3 separate regions of the Homo sapiens genome follow, and all the other regions are linked to region 1. The links are contacts of gene promoters, found by promoter capture Hi-C in blood cells and fetal thymus (Javierre and others, 2016). All regions are on one chromosome and are shown on one strand. The core of a region is centred on a gene start or on the middle of the fragment in contact, and the rest is flanking DNA. Distances in the headings are between cores, read along the strand shown. Region 1 holds the start of ADH5 (alcohol dehydrogenase 5 (class III), chi polypeptide). Region 2 overlaps CENPE (centromere protein E). Region 3 overlaps BMPR1B (bone morphogenetic protein receptor type 1B).

Region 1 (3,024 bases), core at 378-2,877:
ATCACCTGAGGTCAGGAGTTGGAGACCAGCCTGGCCACTATGGCGAAACCCCGTCTCTACTAAAAATACAAAAATACCGAGCATGGTGACGGGCGCCGGTAATCCCAGCTACTCGGGAGGCTGAGACAGGAGAATCGCTTGAACCCGGGAGGCAAAGGTTGCAGTGACCCAAGATCGCGCTATCGCACTCCAGCCTGGGAAACAAAGAGCGAAACTCCGTCTGAACTGGCGGGGGAGGGGGGGGGGAGGGAAATGGCCTCTGTAAATTGGTGAGGTTGGAAATGTGGAAATGATCGTTTTTAAAATTAAATTGCAGATATTAAATCTCATAGTACAAAGAATCAGACACTGCATTAGAACCTTTTTCATTTCAATGTGCCATAAATTTCAACTCCACAAGTCAGATTCAGAATACTAACAATTAAGTTATGCAACATAGGAATCCAAAGAAACAAGAATACTAAATTTGATGGCCTGCTCCCCTTTAAAAAATGTCTTAATGGAGCCTAACCTTTTCCTTTTACTGACAATTCTAAGCAAAACAAAGCCCCACTCTAAATCCGCGGGAAATGGCCCTACTTCAACATTTGAACTATAGTAACAATTATAATCTTTCACCTTCTCTGAATAAAGACACTCAGTAATAAGGAAAAGCAACTACCAGTTTAAGTCTGAAAGACTGTTTAGAGTTTATTTCTTTCAAACTCCAATATGTTTAAGGCCATTTGTCTTACTAGAAAATGTCCAAAATTGCAAAACATTAAAATAATCAGCAACTTTAGACTGAGTATGTTATTCGTAATTTCTGCCTTTCTTTACTGTCTAATTTGTATTTTATGAATTTGTCATAGAGGAGCAGACCTGGGTCGGAATCCCAGCTCGCCATCGTTGGTGTGACCAAGCACAACCAACCTCAAACCTCAGTTTTTGGTAAGATGGGGATAACACCTCGCAGAGGTGTTTGTTACGTGAGGACTAGAGGGAATATAAATCTCTTGGTATTTAAGTGCTCGAAAATGTTTCTGAAAGGGACGTAGGGGTCTTTCCAAAATACACTCCTTGGAGGCACAATAATTAAGGCGTAGGCTCAATTATGCAACACAAGCAACCTAGGAGTTAGAAGCACGGGATCTGGCTGCAGCTCTGCCAAGTATGCAAGCTGCAAGAATGACCCAGAGCGAGTTACTTAATTTCGTGTAAGAAGCAATGCGTGGCCGCTCCTAAGCCATTTCCACTGGGATACCGACCTGACCAGCCCCTGCCCCCCACTCTCCGGCTCTCCCACCCCCCCACCCCGTTCCGACTGTCCCAGAAGCAGCAAAGAAAGCTGCTTCCCAACTGAAGAGCCGAGACAAAGCTTCCTTCTCTTTCTGCCCCTCTGAGCCGCTCGCTGGGGGCCCAGTTTCAGAACCAAGAGCCAGATCCCGTCTTGGGCGCCGAGCCTCGCGCGCCCCCGAGGATAGCAGCCTAGTCCCATGCCATGCACTCCCTCCCTTGGACTCAGGGCCCTCCGCTCAACGGGCCCTACCTCGTTCGCCATGTTCACGGATTCTGGTCGGCGCGGGGGGCTGACATCCGGGGTGGGCCGCGCAGCGACGGAGGCATGGGCGTGGCGAGCGCCTAGCGAGGGGGGCGGGGCGTGGGGGGGGCTTGCAATGGCTCCAACCGGAAGGGCGGTGCTCGAGCTGTGGTGCGTGCCGCTAAGTTGTGCGTTCCAGGGTGCACTCGCCGGCGAGGCTGCACGGCGCCGGTTTCATTGCTAAAATCCGACGGACTTGTTGCAGAACTCGTTTTTTTTGTCGGGAAAGGGCTTCCCCGTGTAACTTTACAGCAGTTATCGTAGATAAGACTTGCAAATTACAGATGTGGACGGTGAGGGAACGGGAATTTCACTGAAAGCGCCTGAGAACCAGTAAGAGACCTGCAACAGCTTTGTGCTCCACTGGCGAATGCTTCCTCCCCTAATACACATTATGTGTGCTTGGAGACACAAGGAGTAAGATACAGCCCCTCAAGGGACTCGTCATAGGGAGAGGACACAGCTTTGGGAATAAAGGGGCCACAAAGGAGGAGAGAGGAGTTTGCTGAAACTTCCCAAGCTCCCATTCCAGCAGTTCCTGAAGGGTAGGTAGGATTTTGGGGAGACAGTAGAACGTGGGCAGAGAACTTTGGAAGGAGGAGATGAGGAGAACAAAAAGTCTCCTGATCCTGGACAGTTTTTTGTGTTAAGAGTGGGCCAGAGTGTAGAGAGAGAGAATGTAGTATTTGTCGGTTTACTCTTTCTTTGTTTGTTTGAGACGGAGTCTCGCACTGTCGCCCAGGCTGGAGTGCAGTGGCGCGATCTCGGGTCACTGCAACCTCCGCCTCCTAGGTTCAAGTGATTCTCGTGCCTCAGCCTCCTGAGTAGTTGGGATCACAGGCACACGCCACCACGCTGGCTCAATTTTGTATTTTTAGTAGAGATTGGGAGTGGGGGCAGGGGGTTGGTCTCACCATGTATGCCAGTCTGGTCTTGAACTCCTAACCTCAAGTGATTCACCCACCTCAGCCTCCCAAAGTGCTGGGATTACGGGCATGAGCCACCGCACCTGGCCTGCCAGTTTACTCTTAAACTCTGTTGTAAACGCTGAATTTTGTTAAAATAGCTCTGTCAGACACACTGCTCTTTTCTGTCTTTCAGTCTTTTTCTTGGCTCTTTTCCGGGTACATATGGTAAGATTGTCCAAAGTCTTTCCGTCCTTTCACTCCACTCTCTCACTCACACTTTGGCTTTTAACGTCTATTTATGGAAAGATGACTACCAGATTATTATCTCCAATCAGGATGGCTCCCCTAAACTCCAGACTTGGACATGTAACTGCCTACTGGATTTCTGTCTCCATTAGGATATCTCACAATCGAATGCAACTCCTAAAACTCCTATTAATATTTTCTCCTTATAGGGACTCTTTCCTCTGTGTGTTGACACTCTCCACATACTTACCCTAGCCAGAAACATGAGAGTCACAACTTCTCCCTCTCCCT
Region 2 (3,024 bases), core at 212-2,711, 4.1 Mb after region 1:
AGTTAAAAGTGGCAAATGGAACCATAATTCTGTAGGAATGTAACAAATAATTCTATGAATACCCACAATTTATTTCACATACCAAAGCACAACAAATTCTAACCTGATACTTCCAACTTGCTATTTTTACACTTAAACCAAAATATTAGAGCTGTCAGTATTTTAAAACTATTCATATTGTTTAAAAGATGAATATAAATACTTCAAAAAAACCCTCACATACTATAGAAATAGGAGACACTTTAAAAACTATAGAAATTAAAGGTAAACATTCAAGAACAATAATCTCAATAAGTCAGTCAATTTTAAAGCTCCCTTAAGTCTGCTACTCACATTGACATCTTCTCGAATAATTAAAGGTTTCATTTTTTGAGTGCCACAGAGTAAATCTGTAATGGTTTCATTGTATATTTCCATGTAAGATACACGTAAGAGAAATTCCCTATCAGGAAACTAGAAGAAAAAAAATTATATAAAAACACCAGGAAGCATCCAATTGTGAAAACCTAATGCTAAATGCTCATGTGCTTAAAGAGGTAAAATGTATGTAAAACAAACTAAGAAACCCCTTGGTTCTACTGTTGACAAAATAATGAACACAAAAATATAAAAGCATCGTTACAGAAATAATGAAAAGTGAAGTACCATAAAGCTGGGAGAACACCAACTCTAGGCTCAAACTCTAGGCTCAAAATAAAACCCTCTCAAAAGATGTTCTTATTTTAATAAAAATGCTAATTTGAAACCAACTAACTCGGTTGCCTATTCTGGCTTTCTGCTTCCCTTCTTTTTTTACCTACATCCACTTTCTACTGTTCCTTTATAATCACTGATAGTTAAATGGTTAGGTGGAGCTAACCATTCTGATAACATTTTCTTGTTCCTTAATGCCTACTTTTTGTTGAGAGTATTATTGTTGCAGAATTCAAGAGAAAGAATAAAAGAACTTTAAGCTTTATAAAGTAAGTTGTGGAGATAAAAGTGAATCTATGCTATGCCTTTCTTCTTTCCCCATGGATAATCAAACAATAACTGTAAATCTACTTCCTTTCATCTTTACAAGAGAAATACACTAAGACTGGTACCCAGTTTTTACTAGTTTTACCTGTACGTACTAGAAATCCAGTTAAGTTACTTACCTTCTTAATTTTTTGGAAAATGTCATGAATTGCCCTGGGTATAACTCCCAAATGATCTTCTGAACCCATCATGGTATATGTTTTTCCTGAAGCAGTCTGTCCATAGGCAAATATAGTACCTGCAAAAAACAAAACACACATACGCAAAGATTAAAAACAAACCTATAATGGGTAAAACTATGCATGCTTGTTGCACAGACGCCCAAGACTAAAATGTTTCTGCAGCATTGAGTGAATACAAACCATTGTAGCCTTGTATGGCAGAATCGATGATTGGTGCTGCTATTTCTTCATACACATTTTTGGTAGTTTCATTACCATGAAAGACACGATCTAAACAACAACAACAACAACAACAACACAGAAGTTAAATCAAATGAGTCCACTGTGTTTTCATTCCAAATTAGTAATTATTCCCAAAAGTAAAACTGTCAGAATGTAGGATGATCAACTATTTAAGACACAGTATTTTTTTCAACTTTTTGGTTCTCTGAAAATACCCTTCCCTAAGGTAAAATGAGTTCATTTTCACACACAAAAAATACACTACAAGTCAACTTTTCTATGTTCTTTCAAGAGGCAATAAGGTATAGTGTTTGCACATGGGGGTCTGGAATCTACCTAGATGCAAATTAGATAACTGTGATTATAACTGTTTTAAATGCCAATTGGTTACCTTACTTAAATACATGATGGATAAACAATTTTGTTTCCAGTGAAGCAGTTTATAGAAGGCTTAGTCTAATCTTTAGTGACAAATCTAATATTATTGATAAGCCTTTTGTACTTTTAATAGCAAAAGGATAACAAGGTAACTTTTGATGCTATTATAAGCTTACCAAAATTGAAGGATTTACTTCCATCAACTTGATAAATGACATTATTGTCAGTTTTCCAGTAAACTTGGGCAGTTTCTCCAAGTGATTCTTCTCTAAAAGAATAAAAACACCGCATTTTAACCAGTCATAAAAGTCATGTCATAGGAGGAATAATTGAAAAGATTTCACCTGCTAAAGAATATTTTGAAAGATAGTAACATAAGAGAATGACAGAAAGTCCATCTTTGAGGATTCAACTCTTAAATGGAGCTTCAGTGACCTTCTGCCGCCTCAAAAGTGTTTTCTTGTGAAGGCTTTCATTCTCACCCTCTCCCCCAGTACTGGTAAACAAAGGGATGGATTCAAAATGCAACTCTGATTATGTCTGTCTTGCTTAAAATTCTTAAAACCTTTTGGAAACTTATGAAATCCTCAGCAGGGCACGAGTCCTAGATCATGTCATTTCTCTCTTCCATTTTCCTCTGAATTCCTAGATACATCCTAAGCTCTACCTGAAGGTCTTCCCCAAATGACAGATGTAACCTCTCTGTGCCTGGAATACTCTGACTTCCCTTTCCATTAAGTAACATAGGGATTATTTCACTCATGAAAAGCGTCAAGACTTTTCTGACACCAGTTCACCCCACGGGAAGCTTTCGTCTCTGATGGGCTAATAACTCCTCTAGCAAACATTCTCTACCTGCCCATCATAACACTTGTCAAAAGGTATCCTAATGGTTTCTTTATGTAGCCGTTTAAGGCATTAGATAATGAGCTCCTCAAAAATAGGAAATTCCTGATCTTGGTATTTGCATTTATTAAACCCCGTGTTCAATAAAAATTTCTCACACACACAAAGTGTTAGCATTTCGGGTCGAGGGCCAGAAGCTAGTGAAGCAAACCGATTTCATTTATTCCTCTTCCTGCTTTTTCTCCCTAGCACTTATTACCTACATATCACCACTTAACATCCTACATTTTCAACTTTACTTTCTGTCTCGTCCCATTAGAATGGAAGAGCCACTGGGCAATGACGGGAGTGTCTGTGTTGTACAAAGTCACTAAAA
Region 3 (3,024 bases), core at 323-2,822, 3.9 Mb before region 1:
TGTTCCACATTCCTCTCCTTCCACCCTCGCAGCCTTCAAACTCACCATGTTCTAGAGTTCTCTGGCAGACTGGAATGTTCAAGATGAGTTTGAAGCACCACTGGAAAAAAAAACAGGCTCTTATCAAACGTACCAAAGCACTGCAAAGGGGGGACAGAGCACTATTTCTGAAGTGTAAAAGCCATTTAAATATAATCTCTGGGCCGGGCACTGTGGCTCACATCTGTAATCCCGGCACTTTGGCAGGCCGAGGCGGGTGGATCACTTGAGTCCAGAAGTTCGAGACCAGCCTGGCCAATATAGTGAAAACCCATCTCTATTAAAAAATACAAACAATAGCCTAGTGTGTTGGTGCACACCTGTATTCCCACCTACTCGGGAGATTGATGCACGAGAATTGCTTGAACCCGGAAGGCGGAGGTTGCAATGAGCCAGGATCATGACACTGCACTCGACAGACCGAGACCCTGTCTTAAAACAAATAAACAAACAACAACAAAAACAAAAACACCTTTGGCTCATTGGTTTTGTGTCTGGTTACTAAAATGCTAAATAATATATACGTTTTCCAGCAAGCTGTGCAGAAAGCTTTATGAGATGCTGGAGCTCTGTTATTGTGGGCTTTTGGTGTTACTTGATATCTCTTCACTGAGGATTTCTTATGAAGTGAAATTGTACTTTTCAATAGGAAGACCAATAATTGATGTACCACAGGAGAAAGTTTTAGTGATGCTGTGCACAGGTCATTAATCTTGTTAAATGGTGCAGTGTGATGCTATTACTGCAGCAGACAGCTATGATTTAGGAATAACTGTGTTTGTTTGCATAGTATGGAATTAGATAAAAGATTAAAACTTATCAAGTGTTATAAACAATCTGGGAGTATTGAGTGGAATACAGACTCCCTGGGTATTTTTATGTTTGCTTAACACTAATTTCAAAGACACCTTTCTACAATCAGCAGAACCACCTGCTTGTTTCTATCACAAAGAAGACATGAACATCTGTTTTAGTCATATATAATTTTGCATGAAAAAAGCTTACAGAATTTTACTTCTACATGGTTTTAAGGGTACCTTTTAAAAATATATTCAAACTTAATGAACCTAAAACTAAAAAGCTACATTGTAACAGGTGCCAGCCTTGCAGATGATACATTTTTCTAACATTTCTCTTCCTCAGTGTCTAAGGCAGATGGGAAAACTCATGACAGAATGCTGGGCTCACAATCCTGCATCAAGGCTGACAGCCCTGCGGGTTAAGAAAACACTTGCCAAAATGTCAGAGTCCCAGGACATTAAACTCTGATAGGAGAGGAAAAGTAAGCATCTCTGCAGAAAGCCAACAGGTACTCTTCTGTTTGTGGGCAGAGCAAAAGACATCAAATAAGCATCCACAGTACAAGCCTTGAACATCGTCCTGCTTCCCAGTGGGTTCAGACCTCACCTCTCAGGGAGCGACCTGGGCAAAGACAGAGAAGCTCCCAGAAGGAGAGATTGATCCATGTCTGTTTGTAGGACGGAGAAACCGCTTGGGTAACTTGTTCAAGATATGATGCATGTTGCTTTCTAAGAAAGCCCTGTATTTTGTGATTGCCTTTTTTTTTTTTTAAGATGCTTTCATTTTGCCAAAATAAAACAGATAATGTGGATGGTTTAAGGGTTATAGTATTATAGTTTAAATAATAACAACAAAATTCTTCCCAGGAACTCTGCTGGAAGGTAAATTAAAATACTTGTTTTTCCATTGGTAAAATATTGTTGCACTCTGTGAACCAAAAGACAGTCTAAGTTGGAGGACATAGAACGGAACTCATCTTAAACATACTCCCCACCCCGTCTTGGCCTCCTCAGACCACTTTGGCCATCCCTGCATTTGGGGCCGCTATGGTAATGTGAATGCACTGGGTACAAACACCGCCTGTCTAGGACCACATTTGGAATTCCTGCAGGTGGCCTTTTGCAGCTTCAGGCAATATGGAACAAATGAAGGTTTATGTGACTCTAATAGAAGTAATTGTTGATAGGTGTTCTTCAGATCCACTTCTGTTTCTGATTGAGTTAGGCATCTCTTTCATGGTAAAACCCTTTTCATTAAACACAAAGAAAGCTTTTTTTTTTTTTTTTTTTTTTTTTTTTTTTTAATGTGCAGAGGATTGACCTGTGCATGCTTTTGATCTCTCATTCAAAGGATCAATATTAAATAAAATTGTCATGAGCTGTGTTGAAGACAGGGTGCTTTCAAATAGAGGTAATTTGCTCTTGTGTTGTAAGAGGAACATGTCAACAAAGATAGGAAATGAGGGTGATCGTGCAGATGGCTTGTATCTTATATATGCAAAGGAGCCAATCTCAGAAGCACAAAGAAAAAAGTGTGCATACCTTATTTTGTACAGATAAAGATGATGTCTTTTTGTTATTGTCTGTCTGTTTTGTATGTGTCTGAGATAAGGGATAGAGAGGAAACATCCGTCAGGCTAATTTAACTACATTTTATTTTAAAAATAGAGAAACATAACCTCTAGATGGGACAGCAGAGGACAGTTAGTAGAGGCCACAAACTGTTATGGGCTGCTGTGTTTTGTTCTAAAATCAATATGGTTGGAGCATGTATATCTTAGGTGATCATTTCACATCTTAGGAATGCCTACTCATTTTATTTTATTCTAGTGATGCTCAATTCACTATTTAATTTATTATATTTTCTCTTCTGTGGCACTTATACAAAATATCTCTTCACCTACTTAGTTCTACAGGGTTTTAACTTTGGAGCAACATGAATAAAATCATCGAGAAGGCCAATATTGTTTAGCAACATGAATACAATACAGTTTAAAGTTGTACACATCCTGCTCAACTTTATTCATATACATTTCCTTTCTGTGGTTTTCTTTTGCTTCTTAGAAATTCTGTTAGTGGTTAGTAAAGAATTTGAAAGTACTTTCTCCTTGCTGTTTTTTTTTTTTTTTAAGACATTCCTCCCAGAATACTCCAGGGGGCAGTGTTTTATAACACATTTTCCCCA

What was found. Contacts are between HindIII fragments. The CHiCAGO score rates a contact against its expected background, and 5 or more counts as called.
Region 2: a fragment that was not itself captured here is called in contact with the fragment with the promoter of ADH5 in region 1 in 1 of 17 cell types (fetal thymus); the score reaches 5.2 in fetal thymus.
Region 3: a fragment that was not itself captured here is called in contact with the fragment with the promoter of ADH5 in region 1 in 1 of 17 cell types (fetal thymus); the score reaches 10.1 in fetal thymus.

The regions. Positions count from the first base shown.
Region 1 is chr4:99,087,161-99,090,184 of GRCh38, forward strand. It overlaps ADH5 (alcohol dehydrogenase 5 (class III), chi polypeptide), which reads right to left and starts at 1,628. Exons shown (of 9, transcript NM_000671.4): 1 at 1,529-1,628. The coding sequence starts at 1,540. It overlaps LOC100507053 (a long non-coding RNA gene), which reads left to right and starts at 1,697. Exons shown (of 10, transcript NR_037884.1): 1 at 1,697-2,124. RefSeq lists a promoter at 1,573-2,826 and a silencer at 1,611-1,660. The HindIII fragment of the contact is 7,789 bases long and covers 1,356-3,024 here.
Region 2 is chr4:103,194,781-103,197,804 of GRCh38, forward strand. CENPE (centromere protein E) reads right to left here. Exons shown (of 49, transcript NM_001813.3): 2 at 1,979-2,070; 3 at 1,383-1,472; 4 at 1,140-1,258; 5 at 334-453. Among named protein-coding and RNA genes, the nearest start is that of CENPE, 2.0 kb to the right of the region's middle. The HindIII fragment of the contact is 1,020 bases long and covers 952-1,971 here.
Region 3 is chr4:95,153,366-95,156,389 of GRCh38, forward strand. It overlaps BMPR1B (bone morphogenetic protein receptor type 1B), which reads left to right. Exons shown (of 13, transcript NM_001203.3): 13 at 1,183-3,024. The coding sequence ends at 1,308. Among named protein-coding and RNA genes, the nearest start is that of UNC5C, 390 kb to the right of the region's middle. The HindIII fragment of the contact is 1,070 bases long and covers 1,038-2,107 here.